2 separate regions of the Homo sapiens genome follow, and region 2 is linked to region 1. Evidence: promoter capture Hi-C in 16 types of primary human blood cells and fetal thymus (Javierre and others, 2016). All regions are on one chromosome and are shown on one strand. The core of a region is centred on a gene start or on the middle of the fragment in contact, and the rest is flanking DNA. Distances in the headings are between cores, read along the strand shown. Region 1 overlaps ARHGAP9 (Rho GTPase activating protein 9). Region 2 holds the start of METTL1 (methyltransferase 1, tRNA methylguanosine).

Evidence for each region. The method cuts DNA at HindIII sites, captures the fragments that hold promoters and counts their contacts. A CHiCAGO score of 5 or more calls a contact.
Region 2: the fragment with the promoter of METTL1 here is called in contact with a fragment that was not itself captured in region 1 in 6 of 17 cell types (total B cells, naive CD8 T cells, activated CD4 T cells and 3 more); the score reaches 6.5 in total B cells.

What each region holds. Positions count from the first base shown.
Region 1 is chr12:57,469,260-57,475,751 of GRCh38, reverse strand. ARHGAP9 (Rho GTPase activating protein 9) reads left to right here. Exons shown (of 18, transcript NM_032496.4): 11 at 137-269; 12 at 354-461; 13 at 779-877; 14 at 1,049-1,126; 15 at 1,276-1,329; 16 at 1,576-1,710; 17 at 2,044-2,149; 18 at 3,064-3,483. The coding sequence ends at 3,235. It overlaps GLI1 (GLI family zinc finger 1), which reads right to left. Exons shown (of 12, transcript NM_005269.3): 11 at 6,054-6,321; 12 at 3,484-5,435. The coding sequence ends at 3,691. Among named protein-coding and RNA genes, the nearest start is that of ARHGAP9, 7.4 kb to the left of the region's middle. The HindIII fragment of the contact is 536 bases long and covers 1,107-1,642 here.
Region 2 is chr12:57,766,779-57,773,361 of GRCh38, reverse strand. It overlaps METTL1 (methyltransferase 1, tRNA methylguanosine), which reads left to right and starts at 1,257. Exons shown (of 6, transcript NM_005371.6): 1 at 1,257-1,388; 2 at 2,105-2,268; 3 at 3,406-3,590; 4 at 3,684-3,797; 5 at 3,958-4,059; 6 at 4,211-4,891. The coding sequence starts at 1,279. The coding sequence ends at 4,366. EEF1AKMT3 (EEF1A lysine methyltransferase 3) reads right to left here and starts at 748. Exons shown (of 3, transcript NM_015433.3): 1 at 461-748; 2 at 234-345. The coding sequence starts at 637. It overlaps CYP27B1 (cytochrome P450 family 27 subfamily B member 1), which reads left to right and starts at 6,284. Exons shown (of 9, transcript NM_000785.4): 1 at 6,284-6,515. The coding sequence starts at 6,321. RefSeq lists enhancers at 584-1,093, 1,224-1,513, 1,199-2,398. The HindIII fragment of the contact is 5,954 bases long and covers 1-5,400 here.

The DNA of each region.
Region 1 (6,492 bases), core at 125-2,624:
AGTTGGGGGCAGGGTGGGCTCAGTGGAGAGCCCTTGCCTGGGCCGGGATGTGGGACCCCGGCAGTGGGTCAGAGTCCAGCTAGGGATACAGATTTCTCTCCTCTCTCACCTTCGACACGGCCCGCCCCGGGTCTAGGATCGGGAGAACCCCCTGGAGCTGCGTCTGTCGGGCTCTGGACCCGCGGAGCTGAGCGCCGGGGAGGACGAAGAAGAGGAGTCGGAGCTGGTGTCCAAGCCGCTGCTGCGCCTCAGCAGCCGCCGGAGCTCCAGTGAGGCGCGGGCTGGGGAGGGAGAGTCCGGGAGCGCAGCGAGGCTCCCGGGCGCTCACGCCCCGCTCTACCTGCCTCCTGCAGTTCGGGGGCCCGAAGGCACCGAGCAGAACCGCGTGCGCAACAAACTAAAGCGGCTCATCGCGAAGAGACCGCCCTTACAAAGCCTGCAGGAGCGGGGTCTGCTCCGAGGTGAGGGGGCTGGGCCAGGTTCATGGATAAGAAAACTCCAGCGAGGCTCAGAGTAGAGCTTCCCAGAACTAGACCACAACCTTCTGTGACTGCTGCTTTCCCACTACCCCAGATTGTTTAGGGGAGAAGCTGGGGTGACCTGTACCCCTTTGCCAGATTGTTTGAAGCAGGGGAAGGGAGGTGGAGTGTATTTCCTTGCCCAGGCCTGGCACAGGCAGCCAGGAGGACCAGCCTCACTTAAGGATAAAGACCTATGCTGAGAAGAGCTCCTGTGAGTGACGCTGGCACTGGCTTCCCGCCTCACTCTACTTCCCCAGACCAGGTGTTCGGCTGCCAGTTGGAATCACTCTGCCAGCGGGAAGGAGACACGGTGCCCAGCTTTTTGCGGCTCTGCATTGCTGCTGTGGATAAAAGAGGTCATTTTCTCAGAGACCCCAGAATCCTCTTCCAACAGGCTAAGGCCTAGAATTTTCTGCCTCCCCCATTCTACCTAGTCTTCCTACTGCCCTTTTTCTCTCCACCCTTATATCCCTCACCACACACACTTTCAAGCAGCAGTCCTTATCTACTCCTTCCTCATCTCCCAGGTCTAGATGTGGATGGCATTTATCGGGTGAGCGGGAACTTGGCAGTGGTCCAGAAGCTTCGCTTTCTGGTGGACAGAGGTGAGAAGGCTTGTGGGCCAGTGGTTGTACTAAGAATGTCTTGCCTGAGAACCATGGGCGGTCCTACATGAGGAAGCTGGCAGAATAGAGAGGCCGTCAGGCTGGAAGTGTATGTCTTAGCTCCTGATCTCTCCTCATTCATGTTGCAGAGCGTGCGGTCACCTCCGATGGGAGGTATGTGTTCCCAGAACAGCCAGGACAAGGTACTTACATGGAAGACCCTTCAGATCCCTAAAACTTCCACATATCCTCTTTGCTTCCCGTGGAAACCCCCATGTACTATTCCTGGGAGGGTTGTCCTCATCCCCACCTTAGCTACCTTGCCCCACTGCAGACCCTCTAGGCATTCCTATAGTCTGCTTTGACTGGATTTCTCCAGAACTTCTAATCTCTCAGTCTCTAAATCTTTCTGGCCCTTCATGAGCCCCTATACCTCCTTCTCCCTCCAGAAGGTCGGTTAGATTTGGACAGTACTGAGTGGGATGACATTCATGTGGTCACCGGAGCCCTGAAGCTTTTTCTCCGGGAGCTGCCCCAGCCTCTGGTGCCACCACTGCTGCTGCCCCATTTCCGTGCTGCCCTTGGTAAGGGTTGGAGCTTTGGAAAGAACCCTTGATGTGGGGGACACGGGTGGTAAATAATAGAATAGAGGTTCCCTTATACTCTTCTTTCCCATTCTGACTTTAGAGATGGAAAATAATGTTCAACTCAGGTGCCTACTCCAGTTGCTTTTTTGTGAATGTTTAGAGGGCTGAATTGAAAAGAATTATGAGGCTATAGTTGGGCTATGTGAAAAAGAAAGCTGTGCTAGATTAATGATGTCTTCCATGCCTGTGGGAAAGAGCAGTGCATTTACCCATCCTGTCCTAGCACCTTCCCTAACCTTACTACCATGCCTTTCCCATCACTCTCTCTAGCACTCTCCGAATCAGAGCAGTGCCTCTCTCAGATACAAGAATTAATAGGCTCAATGCCAAAGCCCAACCATGACACTCTACGGTACCTCCTGGAGCATTTATGCAGGTCAGGAAGACAGAACCTCTTTGTTCATGCTGGGGAAAGGTGGAGTGGGGAATGCCACAGGGACTCTGTGCAGGTGGAGTGAAGGTAGGGAAGCACCTAAGTTTAATGGGCAGGTGAGGAAGCAGGCAACCTCTGTGCAGGAGCATATTACCAGAGTCAAAACCTTTATTTTTTTATTTTATTTATTTTTGAGACAGAGTCTCGCTCTGTCACCCAGACTGGAGTGCAGTGGCGCAATTTCAGCTCACTGCAACCTCTGCCTCCCGGGTTCAAGTAATTCTCCTGCCTCAGCCTCCTGAGTAACTGGGATTACAGGTGCCCGCCACCACGCCTGGCTAATTTTTGTATTTTTAGTAGAGACGGGGTTTCACCATGTTGGCCAGGCTGGTCTCGAACTCCTGACCTCAGGTGATTTACCCACCTCAGCCTCCCAAAGTGCTGGGATTACACCGTGCCCGTCAAAGACTTTAGGTCAAAACCTAAAGGTCAGCATCAAGTGGGGAAATGGAACCAAGATGCTGTGAAAGGAATAAGGGAAATCTTACTTCTCCCTTCCCTCTGCCTCTTTGTCTCCCATTGGGACATTGCTGATGGCTTCTTTGGTTGAACTGGGCCTGGGCAGTGACTTCTGAGAGAGGATGGCCACTTGAATTAAAGACTCCCAAACTGTGAGCAGGCAGAACTCTTGGGGCAGCCCCTGAAGTCGGAAGAGGCAGTTATATCTTCAGGTTGTATCCTGAAGGTTTCTCCACTGGTCCATCTCCATTCTCCTTGTATCTCCTTGGTTTTTTTGTTACCATGTGGAGGAATCCCAGAGTGAACTCTTCCCTGCTCAGAACTTTGAAGGGTTAGTTAGATTGCTATGAAGTGGCAAGCTGCTGCCATATATCCCCTTCCTTGGCCTTTGCTTACAGGGTGATAGCACACTCAGATAAGAATCGCATGACACCCCACAACCTGGGAATTGTGTTTGGACCAACCCTGTTTCGGCCAGAGCAGGAGACATCTGACCCAGCAGCCCATGCTCTCTACCCAGGGCAGCTGGTCCAGCTGATGCTCACCAACTTCACCAGCCTCTTCCCCTGATGCAGGGAAGGAAGAAGAGAAAACATATTTCCGGTCATCTCTGGTGGTGAGAGGCTGGTGTTCTGTTTTGAGGATATCCCTTTAAATCTCCCAAATGACTGTCTCTATCTTCATGAGTGTGACTTGAGGTGTTGGGATGGGTGAGGGAGCTTCTCTAAAGAGGAAAGTGAGTGGATTAACCCCTGCTTCTCTTCTTGTTCCCTGTTATCATTCCTCCCCAACATAATAATACATAAAGTGGCATGGTATTTTTTCTGATGCAGTTCCTTTATTATCAGGAAACAGTGTCATTATCAAATTTCTCCTCAAAACGTATACAGACTATACATAGCCCCCAGCCCATACCTCCCATCCCTGGGGCATCTTGTGCATGGGACTGCAGCTCCCCCAATTTTTCTGGAAGGATAGAAACCCCTTAGGAAATGCGATCTGTGATGGATGAGATTCCCTACTCTTTAGGCACTAGAGTTGAGGAATTCTGTTTCCCCAGGTAGGGATCTCAGTAAGACACTCATGTTGCCCACAGCCATGTTGGGGGGCCCAGAGGGAGGTGGGGTATGTCCAGAGCTGCCCCGCTGATCATGGGAAGGAGGAGGACTCAGCCCCTGGGGCTCATCCAGAATAGCCACAAAGTCCAGCTGAGTGTTGTCAAGATCAAGAGAGTCCAGGGGGTTACATACCTGTCCTTCGGGAGGAGGGTACAAGGCAGGACCCCCTCCTAGCCTGCCCACCTCAGGATGACCACAGCTGGGGTTTGTGCCTCCCACTTTGAGAGGCCCATAGCAAGTGGGCAATGGGGGCAGAAGTCGAGGTGGTGCTGCTGCCCTATGTGAAGCCCTATTTGCCCCCACTACAAAATTTTCATGGCATGGTGAAGGGGTGGGATAGGAACCTGACTTGTGATTGGGCAAGTTGGGTCCAAAGCCAGGTCCATATGTGTTCACTGGAGCTTTAGCACGGCTTGGGCTAACCTGGGAACCCCCCAGAAACTTGGGACTCTGGTAGGAAGGTTCCTGGGCGGGGGCATCTTCCCTGCCCCCACCCTCCCACAGTAGCTCCTGTTGAGATTGAACATAATTACACACAAGCTGAGCCTTGAGCTGCCCTGTGGAATGGGTGGGGGAATCAAAGTCCAGGCAAGGCCTGGGTTCTGAAGGAAGATAATCAGGGGGTGGCTGGGTATAGGGGCCTGACTGGAGATATTGGGGAGGAGAGGGCTGGGGGTAATGGGAAAAGAGAGGCTGTGGATGTGGGGGCCCCTCACTGGGGTGGGCATTGAGGCAGGGTGCCAGTCCTGTGGAGTCAGACCCCACTGGGCACCCCTGTTCTGGCTTGACTTGCACTTGTCCATAATGTTCAAGTCGAGGACACTGGCTGTAGGTTCCACCTAGAGCCTTGGGGCCTGGGTACAGCCCAGAGTGGGAAGGGAACTCACCCCATGTTTCTTGGGTGGGGTCAGGATATGAGGCCTGCTGGGGACAGGGGTTGGGGCCATAGTTGGTGGGTGGACCAGGCCCAAGAGGCAGAGAGCCTGGACCCCTCGCTCCATAAGGCTCAGCTGCTGCCCCTTCAGGTCCCCCATATCCCAGAGTATCAGTAGGTGGGAAGTCCATATAGGGGTTCAGACCACTGCCCACCATGGAGGTCCCAACTTCTGGCTCTTCCTGTAGCCCTCTAGCATCCATGGCAGCATTCTCAGTGATGCTGGGGGGCTGTGGTGAGTAGACAGAGGTTGGGAGGTAAGGATCAAAGTTCTGTCCTCCCCCTGCCACAGTGGGTGGGGTATGGACACAGCCCAGGCTCTTGAACCTCTGGACTCTAGCTGGAGCAGGACGGTCAGCAGCCTGGGCTGGGTCACTGGCCCTCCGGGTGACCCCTGCATTGGGGTTGTATCCTGGATACTCGGCTCGGCTTCTCCAAGGAGGCATGGGAAGACCACCTATCCGATCCAGGCTGGATGCTGCAGTGGGCGAAGTACCACCCCCTCTGGCTGAAGCATATCTTGCCCGAAGCAGGTAGTGCTGGGCAGGCATAAGGCCAGGCAGGGAGGATGCTCCATTCTCTGGTGGGGAGCCAGGGGGGAAAGGAGAGGCCAGGGAGGAGCGGCGGCTGACAGTATAGGCAGAGCTGATGCTGCTGGAGCTGCTGCTGCGGCGTTCAAGAGAGACTGGGGGGCCCACGCGGCGGGACACAGTGGTACCTGCAAGTGATGGGGAGAAAAGGTAGGATGGTCAAGGAGCTTCCTAAATTTCACCCTGCCTCCTCCATGCAACAGCCTTGCCCTGGATTCTCAGGGGTAAGCTCGTTATCCCTAACCAGTCTGTTCTGTCTCCTACTTCTCCCATGCCTATTCTGTTTCTGGGTTACCAAGGATTCAGGGTTGCTATGAACAGTTGTGCAGGTTGTGTGCTGCACAATCCTAGGGAACAGCATTCGCATCATAGCCTTTGCATACTTGTTTGTTTGTTTGTTTTGTTTTGTTTTGTTTGAAACAGAGTTTCGCTCTTGTTGCTCAAGTTGGAGTGCAATGGCGCAATCTCAGCTCACTGCAACCTCTGCCTCCCAGGTTCAAGCAATTCTCCTGCTTCAGCTTCCTGAGTAGCTGGGATTACAGGTGCCCACCACCATGCCTGGCTAGCCTTTGCATGTTTGTACATCACAACTATTTTCTGATAAATGGAAAGTGTCTTGAGGAAGGACACCATTTTCTAATTATACAAAAGTGCTGTGTGACAGCCCTCAAGGGTGACTTCCTCCTCTCAACCTCAGGGCAGGTCCAGATCTCACCCCAGCCACACCTCCCACACCCAGGTCTCACCGGTGTGGGACAAGCTGGGCAGTTTGAGACCCCGGGTCCCTATTGGCCGGAGTTGATGTAGCTGGTCCAGCCTGAGGTTCTCAAGGCGGCGAAGAGTGGACAGACCAGTGCCAGCAATGCAAGGTCCCTCGTCCAAGCTGGAGAGGTCTTCAGTGCTGCCCCCTGCATTGCCAGTCATTTCCACACCACTGTCTGTATTGGCTGCACTCCCTGCCGGGGAGTGGTCACTGCTGCAGGATGACTGGGCCCCAGGGCTTGGCTGTGGCTTCTGTGGAGAAGATGAGGTCTGAGGGCAACACCCTTCCCCACAGCTCCTTCAACTTGATGAGTGGCTGAAGCCTGTGTCCCAGTGACTGCTGGGGTTCCAAGGAAGCTTGTAAGTGTAGAAAGGGCTAAGCAGGTAAGAGATGGGGGAGCAAACTGAATGTGAGACGTTTGA
Region 2 (6,583 bases), core at 8-2,507, 300 kb before region 1:
CCTGCCCTCCCCAATCACCCACCCTAGGTGCTTTGACAGGCAATTCGCGCTGTCTGGCACGCAGAAGCAGACGCCAAAATAAAAACAAAAACAAATTTTAAAAAAAAATTTGTTAAAAAGAAGGGGTTAGACTGGGCCCAAAGTTCTCCCCTCTCCCCCAAAGATCCACGAAGTGACCATTTCTCCGCGCCCCTGGGTCCCCACTCTCTCCCGTAAAAAGCCAGCTCACGCACCCTGCAGCGCTGCCAAGATCCCCACGATGCCTGTCCCCGCACCCAGTTCGATCACCTTCTTGCCTCGGAAATCCACATTTTGACTCTCGAAATAATTGCACAGGCTCAGGGCCTACGGGAGAAAAGACAGAGAAAAAGACAGTCGTGAGGATGGCTCCATATGGGAGAGGCGGAGTCCGGGATCTGGACCTCCCACGGACCCTCACCCGGCGCAGCCCATTCCTCACCGCGTCCCACACGCGCGCCGCCACCCCGAGGCGGGACCCAAAGTTCTGCGTGATGGTCAGCACATGCCCACAGAAACAGAACTGGCTCTTCTCCGAGTAAGAGTCTGCAAAGAGCCCGACCTCCCGCGGGAACACCGATTCCGACTCAGATTCGGGATCTGGGCCGGGGTCCGCCATCCGGCCCGCCAAGGGAGTGCCTGGGCACCGCGGCCGGCGCTCAGATCCCGGATCCGGAGCGGGGTAGAGGCTGGGGGCCGCGAGCCGTCGTGGTGTCCCTGTGGAACGAGCCCCGCCTCCCTGAGTTTGCCCTCCTTCCTCCAGTTCGATTTCCTGGAGGTGGAATGAGGAGCTGCCCCTCCCGCCCCGGCCCCGAGCGCACACTCGACGAAACCCACACGGGACCACAAGAGTCAGACCGGGCGGACTGGTCCGAGACCAGGAGTAAGGGGACAGGAGCGAGGACTGATGCCACTGTAGAAGGCGAGGTCTCTAGACCCCTCTCACCTGTGGGGTGCACAGGTGCCTGCAACCAGGATGGTAACCCAGACCAGGCAGAAGCAAGCTAAGAGAAAACGTTGGGTCCCTGGGCCTGGCCTCGCCCTCCCAGTTGGAGGCTAACGGTGCGGAGGTTCCCTCCAGCACTCGCTCCTTACAGCCCTCCCCACCTAGCCCAGCCCAGCCCAGCCCAGCCCAGCTGAATTTGCTCTTGGGTCTTTAAGGGGCGGGAACTGCCACCAACGCGCATGGCTGCGTCATTAACTTGCGCCTCTGGCCTGCGCCTCCACGTGGATTTGGTAGAGAAACCCCGGACTGGGATCATGGCAGCCGAGACTCGGAACGTGGCCGGAGCAGAGGCCCCACCGCCCCAGAAGCGCTACTACCGGCAACGTGCTCACTCCAACCCCATGGCGGACCACACGCTGCGCTAGTGAGGAGTGGGCAGAGGGAGAGAGAGGAGGGCGGGATTCTCAAAGCAGCCGGGAGAGCAGTTGTGCTGCAACTGCTGGGAGGATTTGGGGTAGACCCGGGAGGATCAGATGGGTGACGTCAGTTTTTGGGGGTGGGACCGGGAGATTCGACCGAGAGAGGAGTTGGCGGGTTGAGAGTGGGCGTGGCGTTCGGGCCTAAGTCTGGGTAGCGGTGCTAAGTTTGGGAAGAGAAATAAATTGTTACTGAGACTGAAGTGATAGAGGCAGAATGTCGTTTCCATCTTTTGCTTTTGTTTGTTGGATTTAATAAAAAGGCAAACATATACACAATCCTGCCCGCACCTTACCTTACCTTCCCTCCCCGCAGAGCACAAACACAAAGTAGGATCCCAGTGCATTAGGCAGCCAGTCTCGGGAGAAGGGGAACTTGTGCCCCAGAAAGGGCAGTTACCCGGCCAGGGTCACATCAACCGCCAGAAGTGGAGTTGGGCAGGTCAGCGTTTATGGGCCTCATGATGGTCCTATGATTCACACTGGGAGTTAAGGGTGGTTTCCATTGTCCCTCTTAGAGGCCACAGGGCCCAGTGTTACAGAATTTTTGAGAAACCCTCCTCCCTTTTACCTCCCACCCTCACCCACCCACACACTCTCACAGTACCACTTCTGCAATGGTGTGACCAACCTTCTCATGCTTCTTATGTCTTCTTTCCAATAGCCCTGTGAAGCCAGAGGAGATGGACTGGTCTGAGCTATACCCAGAGTTCTTCGCTCCACTCACTCAAAATCAGAGCCACGATGACCCAAAGGATAAGAAAGAAAAGAGAGCTCAGGCCCAAGTGGAGTTTGCAGACATAGGCTGTGGCTATGGTGGCCTGTTAGGTAACACTCAGGCCCTCTTTTTGGGGTGAGAAGAGGCCTAGTAGCTTCTGCTGCCTCAGCAACTTTTGTGGGGGGTCATAATTGGCCTTTCCCCTTTCGTCCAGACACTGGTGACATCAGCATGGAGAGGCTCCACCTACCCTCTACTCTGGGTCTGTGACCTTTGCCCTGGAGAGTGGAGGGGGCTGCCTCAAATGCTTCTTAAAACCTGGGTTGTCCTTTCTGGCGTCAATCCCTACATGAGCCATTTCATCTGCCAGGTTCCGGGTCAGTGAGCTGGTCAGCACAAGCATCAGAGATTAGCCGTTGTGGCCAGTGATCCTGAACTGTCTTTTCTCAGAGATTCTACCATCTCCCCTCCCCTTTGCCCCTCCCTCGCCAGATCTCATTCCTTCTGCCCCACTCTCCTGTTTTTTGGGTTCCTCTTGTATTGTCTGTATTGTCCCACCCATGCATGCCAAGCCACTCCCTATTTTTAGATCTTCCCAAACAGATAACAGCCTGATAGAGAAGAAGAGCATGGTACATAGAGGCAGAAAACCTTGGTTTAAGGTCCAGTTCTGCCTGGGCACAGTGGCTCACACCTGTAATCCCAACACTTTGGGAGGCTGAGGCAGGTGGACCACTTGAGGCCAGGAGTTCAAGACCAGCTACTCAGGAGGCTGAGGCAGGAGAATTACTTGAACCTGGGAGGCAGAGATTGCAGTGAGCCAAGATTGTGCCACTGCACTCCAGCCTGGGTGACAGAGCAAGACTCCATCTCAAATAAATAAGTTCCAGTTCTGCCCCTTCTTAACTCTATGATCTTCGGCATATCTGACCCTCAGTTTCCTTATCTTCACAATTTACCACAGAGTGTTATAAGGATGAAATAACACAATGTGTGAAAACACTGTGGAAAACTCTAAAGCAATGGCAAATATACATGTATCCTCAGCCCTCCCATTCTGGTCCTGGTGACAATTTTCATTTCTCCCCCCGCCTCTTGAGCATAAAACTATCCATATATGTATCTCTGTCCTCTCTTGCCGTTCTGGACTTTGGTAGTTGCAGGTTGAGGCTTCCTTTCCTGTGTTGACCCCTTTGCACTTCCTACAAGTATATGGTTGATGATTCCATTGCTATTTCTGTGTGCAGTGGAACTGTCACCGCTGTTCCCAGACACACTTATTCTGGGTCTGGAGATCCGGGTGAAGGTCTCAGACTATGTACAAGACCGGATTCGGGCCCTACGCGCAGCTCCTGCAGGTGGCTTCCAGAACATCGCCTGTCTCCGTAGCAATGCCATGAAGCACCTTCCTAACTTCTTCTACAAGGGCCAGGTGGGGAGGGGCCCTGGTGGGTTAGGCTGGTAGGCAGGTGGGGGCATGGAGGCCAGGCTCTCACAACCCTGTTGGTGTGTGTCTGTCTCACAGCTGACAAAGATGTTCTTCCTCTTCCCCGACCCACATTTCAAGCGGACAAAGCACAAGTGGCGAATCATCAGTCCCACCCTGCTAGCAGAATATGCCTACGTGCTAAGAGTTGGGGTGAGTTGGGATCGGAGGGATGATGGGGTGAGTGGCCTACTCAGGGGCCCTTCACTAAGAATTCAGTGGGGGTGCATTTAGGGACTCACACCACCACTTCCTTCATCTGGCTGCTGACGTTGCATGCAGCCTCCTGTCTAGGGTGATTTTGCCTATGCAGGGGCTGGTGTATACCATAACCGATGTGCTGGAGCTACACGACTGGATGTGCACTCATTTCGAAGAGCACCCACTGTTTGAGCGTGTGCCTCTGGAGGACCTGGTGAGTAGGGGACCTAGAGGAGGTGGAGGCCCTTTCCAGAGTGGTTCTGTATTTGGACTTAACTCAGTGCCAGGAGGATGGGATAGGTGTCTAAGGGCCAGGGGCAGTCTGAACAGTGGGCAAGGACTTATTGGACCCTTCCTTCTCCCAGAGTGAAGACCCCGTTGTGGGACATCTAGGCACCTCAACTGAGGAGGGGAAGAAAGTTCTACGTAATGGAGGGAAGAATTTCCCAGCCATCTTCCGAAGAATACAAGATCCCGTCCTCCAGGCAGTGACCTCCCAAACCAGCCTGCCTGGTCACTGACTGCTTACTCTACCTTAGCTGGACCTCGTCTCCCAGGGATTAGAGAAAAGAGCAGGAGTCCTGGGTCTTCCCAGTTGAGACTGCTGGAGCTGAGACACAGTACTCTCTTAAAGAAGGTGGGGAGCTGCCCAGGGCAGAACCCACTGGTGTTCATGACTACCCCTGGCTCCTCTCACCTTGTCCCTCCACTGCCAACAGAAAACAAAGCAGCTGACTGAGATGGTCAAAGGACTTTGGACCATAGGGGATCTTTGGAAGGCTGTGGGGTCTTGCTCTTCCTTAGCACTCCTTTCTCCTTGTGAGATCTCTCCTCAGCTGGAATGAGGAATGTAGTCCATCTAAACTGCTTGCTAGGCTCAATTACCACTTCTGTTTGCTTTGTGGATCCTGGGATAACATGTATATGTGTACACATGCCTATTCTGCCATTTCTCAGGAAAGGGTGGAGTATGTATCATATGCCTTCTACCATCCTCCTGTCCTCTCCCTGCGTAAGACTTGACCTGGGGAATCTGTGTTCCCTAAGTGTTGTCTCTGGAGAGTCCTTGGGAAGGTGTGGGGGTGGAGACCCTCTCCTTTTTCACATTGACCTTCAATTCCAGAACTTCAGAGCTAGCTGACTGGCACAGAGCCTGATAGAGTTGCAGTGGGGAATGAGGGAGTAAGGAGCAGAGAGGTAAACTGTGGGAGATTCTTTTATTTTAATTTTTTTTAGAGACAGGCCCTCTCTCTGTTGCCTAGGCTGGAGTGCAGTGGTACAATCATAACTCACTGCAGCCTTGACCTCCCGGGCTCATGTAATCCACCTCAGCCTCTCAAGGCACTACAGGCATACGCCACCATGCCTGGCTAATTTTTGTATTTTTTGTAGAGACAGTTCCACTATGTTGCCCAGGCTGGTCTCAGACTCCTGAGCTCAAGCAGTCTGCCCACCTTAGCCTCCCAAAGTGTTGGGATTACAGTCATGAGCTGCCGTGCCCAGCCTAATTTTTAAACTTCTTCTGTAGAGACAGTCTTGCTATGTTGCTCAAGCTTGTCTCAACCTCCTGGCCTCATGCCATCCTCCTGCCTCAGCCTCCCAAAGTGCTGGGATTATAGGCATGAGCCACCACAGGATTCTGAGGCTAAAAGTAGAAAGGAGCTGCTAACCAGAAAGCCCCCCAGAGGAGACCGAGTCAGCTGGGGAATTAGAACATCCACATCCATTTAGCTCCTCTAACACCCCACAGACAATCTCTGAACTTAACTAATGTACAAAAAGTTTCATTTCTGCTTCTCAAGCCCCAAATTCCCATGTCTGGAAGGAGGGGGCTTGTATACCCAAGAGACCCCCTTATCCTCAAGAAAGAAAGATGGAGGTTCTAGGAGCCATTTTAGCCCATTAACCCACCTGCCATCTGCCCAGTATATGTTAGGTACAGGAGGAGGGGGAGGTGTGGCTAGTGCAGGAAAATAATGCAGAGAAGATACAACCCACTAAGCCAAGAATGTGGGGACAGTTACAGCTGTGCCTCCCCTGCTTCCCTTCCTGGAGGAGCTGAAAGATGGGGAATTCCTGAGGATGGGCCTAAAGGGGCTGGGCTCACTGGTAGAAGTGGGAATATCAGAGACTGACTAGTGTAGCTTGGTCACCTAGTCCCTACTAAAAAGCCTTATAGCCTTTCCTAGGATGAGACTTTGAGGCTCCTAGACAAAGGCACTCTCCCAGGAGGAAAATCTTAGGCCCTCCCTCCCATGAGGGTCATTGCAACATGAGACCCAAGGGAGTTGTGAAGTCAGCCCCAGCCCCGCCTACTGTTCCTGGGTGCTAATCCCCAGCACAGACCACTCAGGAGGAGGGATTGGCTGAGGAGCTTGGAGAGGGGGCGTCATCACCTCACCCAAAGGTTAAATAGGGGTTGAGATATGATGCTCAGGAGAAGCGCTTTCTTTCGCGAGCACCCTGAACCAGACCATGACCCAGACCCTCAAGTACGCCTCCAGAGTGTTCCATCGCGTCCGCTGGGCGCCCGAGTTGGGCGCCTCCCTAGGCTACCGAGAGTACCACTCAGCACGCCGGAGCTTGGCAGACATCCCAGGCCCCTCTACGCCCAGCTTTCTGGCCGAACTTTTCTGCAAGGGGGGGCTGTCGAGGCTACACGAGCTGCAGGTAGGAAGGGACGCCTTTCCCGAGACAGAGTGCTGGGGAAACTGGTTTTGACAGCGTCAGAAAGGACT